Regions from separate parts of the Homo sapiens genome. Here region 1 is linked to region 2. Evidence: promoter capture Hi-C in human tissues and cell types (Jung and others, 2019). All regions are on one chromosome and are shown on one strand. Each heading gives the region's core, a stretch centred on a gene start or on the middle of the fragment in contact. The rest is flanking DNA. Distances are from core to core; before and after follow the strand shown. Region 1 has its middle 20 kb from the start of FAM168A. Region 2 holds the start of COA4 (cytochrome c oxidase assembly factor 4 homolog).

What was found. Contacts are between HindIII fragments. The study calls those that stand out against the background at their distance.
Region 1: a contact is called between a fragment that was not itself captured here and the fragment with the promoter of COA4 in region 2, in 1 of the 25 tissues and cell types used here (mesendoderm cells).

Annotation. Positions count from the first base shown.
Region 1 is chr11:73,616,707-73,620,436 of GRCh38, reverse strand. No RefSeq gene overlaps it. Among named protein-coding and RNA genes, the nearest start is that of FAM168A, 20 kb to the right of the region's middle. The HindIII fragment of the contact is 9,742 bases long and covers 1-3,730 here.
Region 2 is chr11:73,874,109-73,878,110 of GRCh38, reverse strand. COA4 (cytochrome c oxidase assembly factor 4 homolog) reads left to right here and starts at 1,265. Exons shown (of 2, transcript NM_016565.3): 1 at 1,265-1,354. It overlaps PAAF1 (proteasomal ATPase associated factor 1), which reads right to left and starts at 1,112. Exons shown (of 12, transcript NM_025155.3): 1 at 1,043-1,112. The coding sequence starts at 1,089. RefSeq lists enhancers at 875-944, 965-1,014. The HindIII fragment of the contact is 11,350 bases long and covers 1-4,002 here.

The sequences.
Region 1 (3,730 bases), core at 1,028-3,527, 260 kb after region 2:
ATGTTGCCTGTAAAATACAAAGTGGCCCACTACACATTGTGCTTGCTTTTCATTGTAAGAGGGGCCAGATGCAACAAGTTTAACCTCAGAAGGAATATCTTGACATGCCCCACACCACTGGACCCCTAGAAATTTCACTGAAATAGAAGACCTCTGAAATTTTGTTAGATTTATTTCTCATCCTCTGACATGCAAATGTCTTACTAATAAATCTAGAGTAGTTGCTACTTCTCGCTTACTAGATCCAATCAAGATATTGTCATGAATGTATTGGACCAGTGTGATACCTCGTGGAAGGGAAAGACAATCAAGATCCCTGCAAATTAAATTATGAAATAGAGCTGAAGAGTTGATGTACGCCTGAAGTGTGATAGTGAAGGTGTATTGTTGGCTTTGCCAGCTGAAAGCAAACTACTTCTGGTGGTCCTTATTCACAAGGATAGAGAAAAACACATTTGCCAGATAATAGTTGCATACCAGGTACCACATATAGGATACGTTAATTTGCTCAAGCAATGAAACCACATCTGGTATAGCAGTTTCAACTGGAGTCACCACCTGGTTAAGTTTACAATAATCCACCATCATTCTCTAAGATTTATCTGGCTTCCTCACAGGCCAAATGGGCAAGTTGAATGGGGATTTGGTGGGTACCTCCACCCCTGAAGATCACTATGCCTTAATCTTTCAAGTTCTTGATTGAGATATTGATCTCTGCAGTCCCTCCAGGAATGTGGTATTGCTTTTGTTTTACTAGCTTCCTAAGTAGAAGCAGTTCTAGTGGCTTCCATTTGGCCTTTCCCATCACAATAATCCTCACTTTATAGGTTAGGGAACCAATGTAGGGATTCTGCCAGCTGCAGAGTGAGTCTACTCCAATTATGCACAGAACTGGGGACATAATCAGAGGATGGGTTTGGGGACCCACTGGGCCCACTGTGAGACGGACCTGAGCTAAAATTCCACCTGACATCCATAAGCCCCTATTTTGACTGATGGACCACCATGACATTTTAGGCCACCTGGAATTAGTGCCAGTTCAGTCAGTGTCCAGGAGTCCCCAAAAGGTCTGATTATTTTCTTTTTCCCAACACACAGTGACCCTGGTGAAAGGGTCACTTTCACCTTTCACCACGGTCACTGTGTATTGGGAAAAAGAAAATAAAAGATTGACAGTATAAATTTGGGGCTGTATATCAGGCTTCAGGTTCCTGAAGGGAACCTGGTCTCCCCTCCATTTAAGGGGTTCTGGGCTTATAAACTGGCTTAAGCCTGGGAATTGATTGAGCTTCTGCAGCTCTCTGTTTTTATGATTTGAGTTAGACTTTTGTCCACTTAACCTAGTACTTTTCTGCTTTCTACAGATCAAGTAAGAATTTAGTAGGCTTCCTATCTATTTCACTTCTAGGAACACCATGCTCAGCTAGCCAACGCCATAGATCTGTGCACATCAGACTATTCTCATTGCTGCTTTGACTCTGCTGTCCATTTTGATAACCACTCCCACCACACACACACACACACACACACACACACACACACACACACACACACGGGAACTGGCTCATGCTCTTATGGAGGCTTAGAAGTCCCAAAATCCGCAGTCAGAACATGAAGACCCAGGAGTACCTGGAGCACCAATGTGGCCTGAAAGCCAGCAGGTTTGAGACTCAAGAAAAGCTGAAGTTTCAGCCTGTCTCCAAAGGTAGGAAAAGACCTGATACCCATCCAGCTCAAGTAGTCAAGCAGGAGGAGTTTCCTCTTACTTAGCCTTTTCGTTCTGTTCAGGTCTTCAACTGATTGTATGAGGCCCACCGACATTAGGGCTTTATTTAGTTTTCGGATTCAAATGTTAATCTCTTCCAGAAACCCTCACAGCTACATCAAGACAATGGTTAGCCAAATGTCTGGGCATCCTCTATTTCAGTCAAGTTGACACATAAAATTAACCACCATAGTCATTTTTTTTTTCTGAGATGGAGTGTCACTCTGTCGCCCAGGCTGGAGTGCAGTGGCGCAATCTCGGCTCACTGTAACTTCCGCCTCCTGGGTTCAAGCAATTCTCCTGCCTCAGCCTCTTAAGTAGCTGGGACTACAGGTGTGTGCCACCATGCCCAGCTAATTTTTGTGTTTTTAGTAGAGACGGGGTTTCACCTTATTGGCCAGGCTGGTCCCAAACTCCTGACCTCAAGTGATCTGCCCACCTTGGCCTCCCAAAGTACTGGGATTAGAGGCCTGAGCAACTGCACCCAGCAACCACCATAGTCTTATAGGGAAAAACAAAATCTGCATTCAGGGAACTTCCAGGAGTTCAGTAGGAACAAAACTTTGAGTGTTTACTGGATTTTTCTCTGCCAGAATGTCTAAACATTCTCACAGTTATTGTCTCATTATGTGTCAGTCCCTCACACTCATCTGTGCAAGGTTCTAGGGCAGGACCTATTTCTCAAGAAGAAACAGACGTATCCATGATAACATGTGAGAGATTTTAACACACCTCTCTCTGTAACTGATAGAATATGCAAATTAAAAAAACAATAAGGGCAAAGAATATTTGAATAACACATTTAACATACTTGACCTTATTATTGACATATATGGAACATTGAAACCAACAACTATAGAACATATACTCAAGTGCACTTGGAATACTTATTGATATGCTAGGCCACAATGTAAATAGCACTAAATTTCAAAGAACTGAAATATATAATATAGCATATACTCAATGACCACAGATGGATTATGCTAGCAATAAAAAACAAAAAGAAAACTAGAATATCGGCTGGGTGTGGTGGCTCACGCTTGTAATCCCAGCACTTTGGGAGTCCAAGGTGGGCAGATCACAAGGTCAGGAGTTTGAAACCAGCCTGCCAACATGATGAAACCCCGTCTCTACTAAAAATACAAAAATTAGCCGGGTGTGGTGGTGGGCGCCTGTAGTCCCAGCTACTCGGGAGGCTGAGGCAGGAGAATCGCTTGAACCCGGGAGGTAGGGGTTGCAGTGAGCTGAGATCGTGCCATGGCACTCCAGCCTGGGTGACAGAGCAAGACTCTGTCTCGGAAAAAAAAAAAGAAAAAGAAAAAGAAAGCTAGAATATCCCAAAATGTTTGGAAATTGAGCAGTATACTACTAAATAACCCATGGGTCAAAAAACAAACCCCAGTGAACATTTAAAACCAGTTGAATCAAATAATAATGAAAATACAATAAGTCAAAACTTGTGAGAAGCAGCTAAAGCCATGCTTAGAGTAAAATTTATGGCTTTAAATGCATATATTAGAAATAAAAAATGGCTGAAAAATCTACTATCGAACTGTCTACCTCAAGTAGTTAGGAAAAGCATACAGAAATTAAGTCCAAATAAAGTAGAAGGATGAAAGTAGTAAAAAATGACAGAGGAATTTAGTAACAGAAAACCAAGATATGAAAGAGAGGATCAACAGAACCAAAAGGTAATTAGCTGATAAGACTACTAAAATTGGTAAACTTGGCTGGGTGTGGTGGCTCACGTCTGTAATCCCAGCACTTTGGGAGGCCAAGGTGGGTGGATCACCAGAGGTCAGGAGTTCGAGATCAGCCTGGCCAACATGGTGAAACCCTGTCTCTACTAAAAATACAAAAATTAGCCAGGCGTGGTGGCACGCTGAGGTGGCTGAGGCAGGAGACTCTCTTGAACCTGGGAGGCAGAGGTTGCAGTGAGCCGAGATTGCGCCTCTGCACTCCTGG
Region 2 (4,002 bases), core at 16-2,515:
AGTAAGGTGTAAATTTCTTAAATGCAGAAGGCTATGTTTCATTCATCTTCACCATTGTTTCAATTTGAAAAACCCTTATTAGTAGTAGCAGTTGCCAAATATAGCACTGCTATATTCATCCTGAAGCCTAGAGAAATAACTGGAATAGTATAAGATCAATAAATGTTAGATGAATGAATAGTTTGCTGTGTATTCCTAATTAAGACGTCAGCTTTTCTTCTTTTTTGAGATGAGTATCGCTCTGTCACCCAGGCTGGAGTGCAGTGGTGCAATCTCGGCTCACTGCAACCTCCACCTCCTGGGTTCAACCGATTCTCCTGCCTCAGCCTCCCGAGTAGCTGGGATTATAGGCGCCCACCACCAAGCCCGACTAATTTCTGTATTTTTAGTAGAGACGGAGTTTCACCATGTTGGTCAGGCTGGTCTCGAACTTCTGACCTCAACTGATCCACCAATCTCAGTTTTCCAAAGTGCTGGGATTACAGGCATGAGCCACTGCGCCTGGCCTGGATGTCAGCTTCTTGAAGAGCAGGAACCATCACTTATATTTAGAGTATACATCTGAGCTCCACCAAGCATCCAGTATGGGGCCTGGACACAGTATTAGTTTCCTTAATAGTATCGTCCAGTATGCCTAATATAGCATTAGGGGCCTAGGAGAATACAAAGGTTCCATCACATACACAAAGTGGTGGTGAGTACAGAGACTTCTGGAAGTAACTGACGACTAATCAATATTTGCTAAATGACTGCTTGGCCAAAAGCCTTCCTGCCTCCCAGTATCCCTGTCTTTCTCCAACTCACTGATACTAGTTCTGACGCGGGGATCACACAGCTCATGTGCTCCCTTGGCCTAGGGATAGCTTTTCAGAGAATGACCATACGGGTTTGATACTTCTTTTTCCGGACCCTGTTCCCTCCATATCCCTCGACAATTGACGAAGTAACCCCTATTGATATCCTGGACCAGGCATGGCTCTCCTTGACGCAAAGCAACATCCACTACCCGCCTCCTCTGACTCTGTTCTGGGCCTGGATTCACCTGAGGGCTTGCGCCCAGTCGCTCTGAATCCTCAAAGGCGCCGCCATCTCGACCCCGCCTCCACCAGCCCACCTCTTCCGCCCCTTCCCGGAAGTGAGTCCCCGAGAAGCGTGCGGCGAGGACAGAGGTGGGCTCAACACCAAGAGGCCACCAATGAAAACGTGACTTTTTCACATTCCCCGCCCCTTCCGTGTGCACGCTCCCCACGAGGGGCTGGTTCCTGAAAGGATGTACAGAGGATCCCCAACCGCCTGCGAAACCCAAGCCGCCGCGTAGGAGCGTGCGTTCGGGCCCTCTTCTCCCACCTGTTCGGTGAGCATCGCGTACCGCGTTCTTCAGGAGGCGTTGCGGGCACAACGGGGCTGCGATCAGCGGCCGCGCGCGCGCATGCGTCCTCAAAGTTCAAAGTCCTCGATACGCCTGAGGCGCCTCAGGCCTCGTGGCTGCCAGCATTTTTCTGCTTTAAGATCCTTTCCATGACTTCCTTGTTTAGGCCAGCCTCCACGATCCAGCTGCCAACCATCTAGCCTACCCTGATCTCTGAGCAGGGGTCGTCGTCATTTTACTCCAGAGGAGACTGAAGCCAAAAGGTGGTGAGAGGAGAGTACAGCAGCATTTACTGAGTCCTATAGTAGCCCAAGCGCTTTTCATTCGTTATATTAATCTTCATTCTAATTGTGCGAATTAAATATTATTAATGGGAAAACTAAAATGAAAAAGATTACATAGTAAGGCGTAGTGCTGGGATTTGAACACGGATCTCTTGGTTTAGGATCAAGGCACTTTCTATTCCACTGTTCTTTCTCTAAATTATTTGCTCCTGGCCCTATTTAAAGAGTTAACAGTGTATTTAGGAAGAGAAAACTATCATTTATTGAACTCTTTAGACATACCAGCCTCCTTACAAACCTTACCTTTTTTTTTTTCTTTTTTTTTTTTTTTGAGACAGGGTCTCCCGCTGTAACCCAGGCTGGAATGCAGTGGCGTGATCACGGCTCACAGTGTTGCCCAGGCTGGGCGCAAACCATCCTCCCGCCTCAGCCTCCCAGTGTTGGGATTACAGGCGTGAGCCATGGCACCCGGCTTCATCTCTGTGCTTCCAGAGAGGTTATTAAATGATGTGTCCAAGGGCACCAAATGAGGCAGTGACAAAGCTAGGTCCAAGTCTGTTTCAAAGCCCATTTTCTCCCTCTTGCTTAAGTTATACCGCCTCCAAGGCAAATGAGTTGTGTAAAGTGCCTAACTCCCTCTTGTGATTCCCCATTGCCCTCAGAATAAAAAGTCTTAAACTCCCTACTATGTCCTACAAAGCCTTGTGATGATCACTTACTTATATCGCCAGTTTAATATTGTCTTATTCTCACACTGTATTCTCCCATCACTGAACTTTTTTTTTTTTTTGCTCTCATGTGTCAGATTCTATCTCAACCACCTGCTCTTCCATTGACCAAAAATAGTTTTCCCATCTCTGGCTAACTTCTGTTCCATCTGTCAAGTTTCAGCTTGGAAATCACTTCCTCTAGGAAGCCTTCCCTGCCTATTCCTGCCCTTGTCTGGATTAGGCATCCCTCCACTGTGGTCCCAGTCTTTGCTATCTGTACACTGTGTAGTAAACTGCCCTGTTTCCTTGTCTAGGTTGTAAACTCCATGAAGCCAGGAACTTAACTGACTTAGACAGTCTTGAATCCTCAGCACTAGCATAGTGCCTGGTACATGATAGGTACTTAATCATTTGTTGAGTGAATGAGAGACACAGTTAAGGCAATAAGGAGTCCTAGTTGCTTTACAGCCCATCATGGTGAAATTTTTGCAAAGGCTGAAGTCATTTCTCTTCAAACCTTAAGTTCCTTCTGTATGCTGCTTTCTGCTGAGTGTTCTGATGCAGACGGGCAAGACAGTTTGGGCAAATAAATACACCTCACATTTTTGTATAGTTTACAAAGCCATCTCACCTTATAGACCCAGAGGCCAGGTTTCTGCATACTGTATGCTACAGCCACAGTGAACTCTTTCCATCCTTCCCATGTGTCAAAACCTACCCATATTTGGGCACTCTTTCACTTTGTTTGTTTGTTTGTTTTGGAGATGGAGTCTCACTCTGTCACCCAGGCTGGAGTGCAGTGGCACGATCTTTGGCTCACTACAACCTCCGCCCCTTGGGTTAAAGCGATTCTCCTGCCTGAGCCTCCCGAGTAGCTGGGATTACAGGTGCCTGCCATCACGCCCGCCTAATTTTTGTATTTTTAGTAGAGACGGGGTTTCATCATCCCGGCCAGGCTGGTCTTGAACTTCTGACCTTATGATCCATCTGCCTCGGGCTCCCAAATTGCTGGGATTACATGTGTGAGCCACTGCACCCAGCCTCTTTCACTTTTTAAACTTTGTTCTTCAGCATAGAATAAGGCTAGTAGGATAAAAGAAGAAAGGTTATTTATTTGAAACAGGGTCTCACTATGTCACCTAAGCTGGAGTACAGTGGCACCATCATAGCTCACTGCAGCCTTTGAACTCCTGGGCTCAAAGGATTCTCCCTCTTCAGCCTCTTGAGTACCTGGGACTACAAGTGTGTGCCACTATGCCCAGCTAATTTTTACATTTTTTTTCTTTTTTCTTTTTTTTTGAGATGGAGTTTTGCTCTTATTGCCCAGGCTGGAGTGCAATGGTGTGATCTCGGCTCTCCGCAACCTCCGCCTCCCGAGTTCAACCTCGGCTCTCCTGCTTCAGCCTCCTGAGTAGCTGGCATTACAGGCATATGCCACCACACCTTGCTAATTTTGTATTTTTAGTAGAGACGGGTTTCTCCATGTTGGTCAGGCTGATCTTGATCTCCCGACCTCAGGTGATCCGACTGCCTCAGTCTCCCAAAGTGCTGGGATTATAGGCATGAGCCACCGTATCCAGCCATTTTTAAATTTTTTTGTAGAGATGAGGTCTTGCTATTACCCCTGCTGGTCTCAAAT